Regions from separate parts of the Homo sapiens genome. Here region 1 is linked to region 2. The links are contacts of gene promoters, found by promoter capture Hi-C in blood cells and fetal thymus (Javierre and others, 2016). All regions are on one chromosome and are shown on one strand. The core of a region is centred on a gene start or on the middle of the fragment in contact, and the rest is flanking DNA. Distances in the headings are between cores, read along the strand shown.

What was found. The method cuts DNA at HindIII sites, captures the fragments that hold promoters and counts their contacts. A CHiCAGO score of 5 or more calls a contact.
Region 1: a contact is called between a fragment that was not itself captured here and the fragment with the promoter of PALM2AKAP2 in region 2, in 1 of 17 cell types (total B cells). The highest score is 5.4, in total B cells.

The regions. Positions count from the first base shown.
Region 1 is chr9:110,198,474-110,202,887 of GRCh38, reverse strand. C9orf152 (chromosome 9 open reading frame 152) reads left to right here. Exons shown (of 2, transcript NM_001012993.3): 2 at 1,414-3,327. The coding sequence ends at 1,940. Among named protein-coding and RNA genes, the nearest start is that of C9orf152, 7.5 kb to the left of the region's middle. The HindIII fragment of the contact is 196 bases long and covers 3,013-3,208 here.
Region 2 is chr9:109,778,081-109,782,686 of GRCh38, reverse strand. PALM2AKAP2 (PALM2 and AKAP2 fusion) reads right to left here and starts at 2,489. Exons shown (of 11, transcript NM_007203.5): 1 at 2,154-2,489. The coding sequence starts at 2,198. The HindIII fragment of the contact is 7,761 bases long and covers 1-4,606 here.

The sequences.
Region 1 (4,414 bases), core at 1,861-4,360, 420 kb before region 2:
CAGCTGGTCTTCTGTTTCTTTGGGATCCCTGAATTGGAGCTCAGGGGCTTCTTTCTGACTTTATTCTTCCAACATCATCTCCCCACTCTTGCTCTGCACATTGTCACCTCCAGGGCCTCCTGTGATAACAGGTGCCGGAACAGATAAGTGAACCTAAGTGACACCTCTGAGGAGCTCCAAGCTGGTCACACACCTGCTTTCTATAAGGAAAATGCCTTTCAGTCATTCCAATACCTCTCACTGCCACCAAGAGTTAACAATGAACTGTCATATTCCACTAGGTGGTTTAAAAAAAAGTCCCCAAGAAAGAAAAGAGACATTGGTCTGCCTCTTTCACCCTAAAGCCAGTTCTGAGGAGCCGTAAATGCTGCAGATGTCCTCCCAGAGCAGTGCCTGTGGACTAGGAGAAGGATAATGATTGGTTCTCTAAAGGGAGCTGCTTCAAAACACAACTCCTCCCTCTTCTGCCTTGGGTGGTAAACTCACTATCAGAATCCCAGGACACAGCCGAGCGCAGTGGCTCACGCCTGTAATCCCAACACTTTGGGAGTCTGAGGCGGGCGGATCACTTGAGGTCAGGAGTTCAAGACCAGCCTGGCCAACATGGTGAAAATCATGTCTCTACTAAAAATACAAAAAGTAGTCAGGCATGGTGGCAGGTGCCTTGTAATCCCAGCTACTCAGGAGGCTGAGGCAGGAGAATCGCTTGAACCCAGGAGGTGGAGGTTGCAGTGAGCCAAGATTGCACCACTGTACTCCAGCCTGGGCAACAGAGTGAGACTCTGTCTCAAAAAAACAAACAAACAAACAAACAAAAAGAATCCCAGAACACAAAACCCCGTAAGTTAAGAATAATCTTTTCCACTGGTGAGAATATGTGAACCCACATGTGTGTGAGTCTGTGTGTGCTCTTGTTCCTTGCCTTTCTTTTAGCCCCAAACGCTAGTTCCCTATCTCCTCCCAGAGTTTACTCCTCCACTTCAGTGTTTGACCCTCTATTATGCTTGAGATTTTCCATTGCATTGATTGCCACCCGAAATTTTATTATAAATATGCAATTTTGTCTCTACTCAACCAGGACACACCCCGGAAGGTGTGGGTTTTGTCTCAATGTTCATTGCTGTATTCCCAGGACCTAGAATAAATAATGCCTGGCACATATTAAGTGCTCAATAAATATGTGTTGAATGAATGAATAATTGTGTGTGTGTGAGTATATATGGGTGAGGTGTAAAAGGGCATGTGTGTGAGCATGCAAGTGAGATCTTGTGTGTGTACACATGTACACACATGAAATGTACCAGGAACCTTCTGGGGATGGCCTTCCTTCAGCTTGAAAGCAATGAGACCCCCTAAGTGAGAGCCGCCCCTGTCCCTTCCAGTGATGACCCTGCTGGTGCATTCTCTTTTCAGGAGGAAACACACCTGCTCCTGCAGAATCGATGGTCAATGCTGTTTGGATTAACAAGGAGAGAAGAAGCTCACTGTCCCTGGAAGAGGCAGATTCTGAGGTGGAGGGGAGGCTGGAGGAGGCTGCCCAGGGCTGCCTTCAGGCCCCCAAGTCTCCATGGCACACGCACCTGGAGATGCATTGTTTGGTCCAAACCTCCCCCCAGGACACCAGTCATCAAGTACATCATAGGGGCAAGCTTGTGGGATCTGATCAAAGGCTCCCTCCTGAAGGAGACACACACTTGTTTGAAACCAATCAGATGACTCAGCAAGGAACCGGAATCCCAGAGGCTGCCCAGCTTCCATGCCAGGTGGGCAATACCCAAACAAAGGCAGTGGAATCTGGCTTAAAATTCAGCACTCAATGTCCTCTTTCCATAAAGAACCCACACAGGTCTGGCAAACCAGCTTACTATCCATTTCCCCAGAGGAAAACACCCAGGATCTCCCAAGCTGCCCGGAACCTGGGCTTATATGGCTCAGCGTGAAGCTTTCTATTCTGCCAGATGTCTTGACCTTGAGGCCACCTATGGCCTTATAGAAGAACCAAGGAGGCAGAGCCACAACGAGGTCTCTAGCTATGAGCAAGAACTGGACTAACCTAATTATAGGAATTGTGGGAGACGAACTTCACAATGGTAACATGGTTTTACCCTTCCAATAAGAAGAGACTTCCCAGGCCAAATTGCCCACAGTTTAGGATGAAGAGGACTGTCTGGTCAGTGCAGCCCCATTCTGACATTACTATGAGGTCCTGGATATCCATTCCTTGGGGAGGACCAGTAAGACATCTGCTCCATCCCTGGAACTGGATAATTTTGGAACATAAACCAGGGACCTAGCCAACAGAATGCCTTAGCAATGCCCAGGGGTCAATGGGCGTGGCATTCTTGTTTTCAATGTCTTCTGATGATTTCTCATATATTCTGGAGAAGACAAGCTCTGAGAATTCAGATGCTTTTTCTGGTGGCTATGTCTGGGGGGCCATCTCACTTAGAAGTCACAACACTCATTGGCAGTGATCACATCATTTCAATTTGGGCTTCCCAAAGTATGGTCACCCAGGGTATGAAGGTGAGATCAATGCTACCTACCATTTTGTGTCTTTAAGGGGTCTTTAGAAAGGGCTAATCATCTGTCACTGCTCACTGAGACATGTACATTCCAGCATCATCACAGAGTTATCTCCTTCCTTCCTTCCTTCCTTCCTTCCTTCCTTCCTTCTGTCTCTCCCTCCCTCCCTCCCTTCCTCCCTTCTTTCCTTCTTTCTTTCCTCTCTTCCTTCTTGCCTTCTTTCCTGCCTTCCTGCCTATCTTTTCTCTCTCTCTCTCTCTGCAAATTAAGTTCTTATTAAAAACTGCCAATCATTGACGATATATAATGATGAGATCCTGAACAAAAGAGGCAAAGAAATGCTCCTACTTGAAAAATACACATTCCCTATAGACTGCCTCCTGTTTAGTCCAACTTAGATCACTCAGATCCTTCCTGGGATCAAATATATTTTTAAACCTAAGACAAAGCGAAGCAGGTGTCACTTGGGTGATAGGGAAAAAAGCTTGTATTTCCTGGTTAATGTTTAGCTTTTGTAATGCTATTTAAACACACCTAAGGTGCCTTTCCCTCATCTCAGGTGCTTTCTCTGTAAAGTTTCACTCCCACCTTTCTTTTCTCTGCATGGCCGTCCAGTCTTGCCCATCTACATCCAGAGCTGTTAACTAGTAGTGTCATTACCTGTGAAAAACATGTAGAAGCTTCCTTGAACCACCCAGAAATCCACTCAAATTTGGGGATTGTCATTCCTTTTGTGAATAATTAATACAATTCAGTTGTTTTTTAAATATTCTAATAAAAAAGGAAATTTTCTCAAAAAAATTTGTCCTTTGCTTTTGTTTTTAAAGAAGTGTCCCACAAGTAACGTATCTTTCTATAGGTTTGCTTTTGTTTCCTGTTTTTGGAGATGGAGTCTTGCTCTGTTACCCAGGCTGGAGTGCAGTGGTGCAATCCCGGCTCACTGCAACCTCTGCCTCCCAGGTTCAAGCCATTCTCTTGCCTCAGCCTCCCAAGTAGCTGGGATTATGGGCGTGTACCACTACCCCAGTTAATTTTTTGTATTTTTAGTAGAAACGGGGTTTCACCATGTTGGCCAGGCTGGTCTCGGACTCCTGACCTCGGGTGATCTGCCTGCCTTGGCCTCCCAAAGTGCTGGGATTACAGGTGTGAGCCACCACACCCAGCCAATAATTACATCTTTTTTTTTTTTTTTTTTTGAGATGGAGTCTTGCTCTGCCTCTCAGGCTGGAGTACAGTGGCACAATCTCAGCTCACTGCAACCTCCACCACCCAGCTTTAAGCGATTCTCCCACCTCAGCCTCCCCGGTAGCTGGGGTTACAGGTGTGCACCATCATGCCTGGCTAATTTTTGTGGTTTTTTTGTAGAGACAGGGTTTCACCATGTTGCCTGCCTTGGCCTCCCAAAGTGCTGGGATTACAGGTGTGAGCCACCACACCCGGCCCTTTTTTTTTTTTTTTTTTTTTTTTTGAGACAGAGTTTTGCTCTTGTTGCCCAGGCTGGAGTGTAACAGTGTGATCTCAGCTCACCGCAACCTCTGCCTCCCAGGTTCAAGTGATTCTCCTGCCTGAGCCTACCGAGTAGCTGGGATTACAGGCATGCGCCACCACGCCCGGCTAATTTTGTATTTTTAGTAGAGATGGGGTTTCTCCATGTTGGCCAGGCTGGCCTCAAACTCCCGACCTCAGGTGATCCGCTTTCCTCGGCCTCCCAAGATGCTGGGATTACAGGCATAAGCCACCGCACCCAACAAAATATAACCCCTCCACGACCGTGGCAGAACTCAAACCTGCAATCTTTTGATCCGAAGTCAGACGCCTTATCCATTAGGCCACACGGCCAGCTGGTTGGCCAAGTCTTTGTTCAAAATGCCAAGAGCCTGGATGGCCT
Region 2 (4,606 bases), core at 1,240-3,739:
ATCCTCAGAGAATTGGTTTCAGGACCCCCTTGGATACCAAAATCAAAGGATGCTCAAGTCCCTATAAAATAGCATGGTATTTGCATATAACCTACTCACATCCTCCCACATACATTAATCATTTTCAGATTATTTATAATACCTAATACACTGTAAATGCGACGTAAACAGTTGATTATACTGTATTATTTAGGGAATGGTGACAAGAAAAAGTCTGTACATGTTCAGTACAGACTCAGCTATCTATTATTTTTTCCAATAGTTTCAATCCAAGATTGACTGAAGGCGTGGATATGGAACCCATGAATAGGGAGGGCAGACTGTATTAGGTGCACATTCATGAGAATAATCAACAGCTCCCCAGATACACAGGACAAACTCAATTCTTCAATAACTGAAGAGGCACAAGTGAGTATTTGTGTGTATTCTTATATGCTCAAGAGAATTCCCAAAGATTTGCCTAGATCTTTCTTGGAAAATCGACTTGGCCTCTGCTGGGATTACTCAACCGCACTTGGAAAAGGGTACCCCAGTGTTAGCAGCTACTGGCTCCATGTTTGGAAAGCAAGTCCTTTCATGGAGTTCAGCTGTTCCTCAGGCATCCAGTAAAGCTGGTTGTGCAAAGGCAGAAAATGTGACAACTGTTGGAAGCCTTCAGCAGCAGCCAATGGGAACAGCCACTGCATCAACAGTTAAAGCAGCCTATTATCCAGTTCACACAAAACACCCACCAGCTACATGGCACCATTAACTCAATATCACCATTCTTATCAAGTTCATGACACACTGGCCATGCTGCCTTGCCACCAACTTTAGAAACCACAAATAACTTCACAAACCATCAAAATACACATGCACAGGGGGAAAGAGAAAGAAGAAAAAAACAACCTTTCTGAGTTCAGAGCACCACGTTCAAAGATTACCTAATAGGCAAACCATGGCATTTCAATATTGCCAGCAAACATCTCTCTCACTTCAGTGGTGAAGTCTCCAAGACATTTCAGATTTGAGGCGTTTGAGAAAGAGGGTCTCAGAGCCTTGGAGACCATGTCAAATGCTTCTAAAAAAGGAAGGGTCTGTGTGCATTTTCCCAATGAAGAATCTGTCCAAAAAGGTTTTGGAAAACGCTTTAATATACTTTGGTTCCAAAACATTACACACTATTTCTCCAACAAATTTATATGTGTTTCCAGAGAACTTCCGAACTGAAAAACACAAATGTATTTAGGTGGAAGAATGTCTGGAGATTCTTTTATGCCAATATGTTAACGGACCTTCTTTTTTAATTGTTACTATTTCATACGGCAGCAGTAATCATTCCCTCATCCTCGAAGGAAATATATAATCCAGCTGTGGTGGCTCCAGTAAAAATACCACATCTGTGGATCATTGGCAACACTGTGTTAAGATTGCTCAAATCTAGGCAGTCTCAGAGAGTTCTTTTTTAAACCCAAGATGCACATGGGTACACTTTTCTGAAAGTGCCTACGAACTTTGCCAAAACTGACTACTCCTTTGTAGGCTGAAAATAGGTTTTCAGATACTCCACACCATAAGAAGGAGGCTCTCATGGAATATTATAACCAGGACCCAGTTGTATGAAGTCCCCAGACCTCCAGGGTGGTGGCTTGTGCCAGTGCCCTTGTCAATATCAAACAGAGAAGGGAAAACTAACATTCCCGGTTTCTGGGAGGAGGTTCTACCGCGTGGCTGGCTGAGTCGCTGACTCCTGGTTTTCCACTTAACAGGAGGACAGCTTCCGCAGAGAGGATGGCAGCCACCGTTCAGGTCACCCTTCTCTTGGTTCTCCAGGCTATGAAGCCAACGTATGCCTGAGCATTCGGTCATAATATTCCTGGAGTCGTCCCCCCACCCCAAGCCTCTGTTTAGTCCTTCCCCAAAGCCCAGCAGCAAGCATCTTTTTTTAAGCCAATCTTCCACATTCAAATCCTCAGTCCAAAGCGCGCCCTTGGGGGTCTCCATCTATAGACATAGAAAAGAAAAGGCAGCCTAGCTGAGCCCTGACAGAGTTTTAGCCCCTGGAACATATGACCTGCGGCTACTGTGCTGGCATGCCGCTTGCCCCGAAACCCTCGGGGGCCCCCTTCCACCCCAGACAATAGAGCAAGAAAATAAAATGAAAGTGGACTTACTGCTATGGCTTGCAGCCTTTCCTTGTGCAATTCCGCCTCTGCCATCCTGGAGAAGGGCACACAGGCAGGGGAAAGAGGAAAGAAAAAACACACGCTGTAGTCACCCAAGGAAACTGATGGGCACCCCGGGGGGCTTTGCTAGAACCCGGGAGAACGCCCAGGGACGGCTGGGGATCCGCTCCAGGGGCGGCGGGCAGAGCTGTGCGCACGGCGGGCTCGCCCGGGCTCAGCCTCTGGCCCCCGCCCTCCCGGCCGCCTGGCTGCGCCCCAGCGCCGCCGCTCACTGCATCTCCCGGTCGCCGCCGCCGCCGGCCGCGCCAGCCGAGGACGTGGGACGCCGGCAGCCGCCGGGAGGGCGCGCTAGCCCGGCGCTAGTTCTCCGCCCTGACGTCTCGGTGCCTCGCTCCGCCCCTGGAGTGTGATGGACCCGAGGCCGCGGTCCAAGGCGGCTCCGAGCGATCGCCGCCGCGGGTCTCCAAGGCGCAGACGGAGGGCGCGCGAGCCAGTGGGCACCTGGGGCGCGGGCGCACGGCGAGCCGCTGGGGCGCACGGCTGGCGTGGCGCGCCCGCGTGGACACGCGCTTGCTGGGGCGGAGGCAGAGCGCAGTGGCGCCTCCACCGGGCAGATGCCAGTGGAGAGGGGCGTCTGACCGAATGTGGGACCCGAGCACGTGCTGTTACGTGGGGGCTGGGGCCACCGAGTGTTCAGGGCACCTTCTGGCTCAAGCCAGACGCTTGAGCTCCACGTGGGGACATTTACAATTTGGGAAGGGCTGCCTTGCCCAAGTGGCCCACATGCTTAAGATGACCAAGTTCTCAATATCAAGTCGGCCGAGGGTAGGGTATATCTCCAGAGAGGCCACCCTTCTGGTGAGGCGATATGTGGCCTTAAAAGAAGCCGAGAGTTTTTAGTCCTGGGTGCTAGACTAGATTTCACAATGTGTTAGCTGTGAAATCTCAGGCAACTCGCTTAATCACTCTGAACCTCAGTTTCCTCATCTGAAAAAATGGAGGATCACATAGGTGTCATTAGAGACGAATGAGAGACAGTATGTAAAGGTGCTTTGTAAAGGGCATCACAGACATCTGCTCTTATTATCCTGTGACATTCTGGATTGAAATCCTTTCAGGGTCTTCTGTTCATTGCATCTGAAAGGAAAAGTAGGATCTACTCACTAAAATATTTCACCTATTCTTTACTAAAACAGGATACCATGTGGTACTAATGTGAGTCTTTTGTGACAGGTCCTGGACTGGATGTAAGAAGTGGATCAGGCCCAGTCCAAAAGGAGATCAATGCCAAAAGCAAAAAAAAATGCCTCTTCACATTGAGGCAGGACCTGCTAGAATTCCCAACATTCATATGCAAACGTTTCTTCATCAAATGAAATAAACACTGAAATAACTAATATGGCCTCTTTAGAGCCATAGGATTTAAAGGCATGTTAAAAGATATACACATCAGGCCAGATGCGGTGGCTCACACCTGTAATCCCAGCACTTTGGGAGGCCAAGGCGGGTGGATCACCTAAGGTCAGGAGTTCGAGACCAGCCTGGCCAACATGGTGAAACCCCTTCTCTACTAAAAATACAAAAAATTAGCCGGGCGTGGTGGCAGGCACCTGTAATCCCAGCTACTTGGGAAGCCGAGGCAGGAGAATCACTGGAACCTGGGAGGCAGAGGTTGCAGTGAGCCGAGATCACATCATTGCACTCCAGCCTGGGCAACAAGAGTGAAACTCTGTCTCAAAAAAAAAAAAAAAAATGCACATCAAATTTTCCCAGATCACCTGTTTCCTGAATAAATGCTTCCATTTCAACTAAATTGCCCTTTCAATTTTCACAGAGGTTCACCTGTCACTGATGAACAATTACTCCTCTGACCAAAGATGGAAGCACTCACCAAAATCGTTTACTGATGGATTGTTTTCCCATCTTTTTCATAACAAGTGTAGGTGGAGCTGATTGTTTAATAAATCCAAGCCAGTGCCAGATTCTACATCCCACTCCAATATATCAGAAACTTCTACTTTCTGGCTAAGCCCATCCTTTTCTTCAAATGCATCCTTTTTTCTTCATTTCCAGCACAAGCCCCAGCAGGACAAGTTATTTAAAGGGGTTTGCTCACAAATAAACAAAGCTGTTATTGCTTCAGCAGAGTGATTGTAGAGAATACTAAGATGAGGAAAATGAGACCAGAGAGGTTGAAAGACTCAGCTACAGTTATAGAGCTGGGATTTAAACTCAGATCACACTCACCAGAGCCCATGCTCTTAACCATTAAGCACCAGGCTTGGCCAATGATATGGAGATAGAAGCAGGCCCCAGGAATAAACAATTGAACCAGAAATGGTCCTTCTACTCCCAGCTATACAGATATTTAAAAGGTATGATTGAGCACAACAGTGTGAATGTACTTACTGTCATCAAACCATATGCTTAAAAGTGGTTGA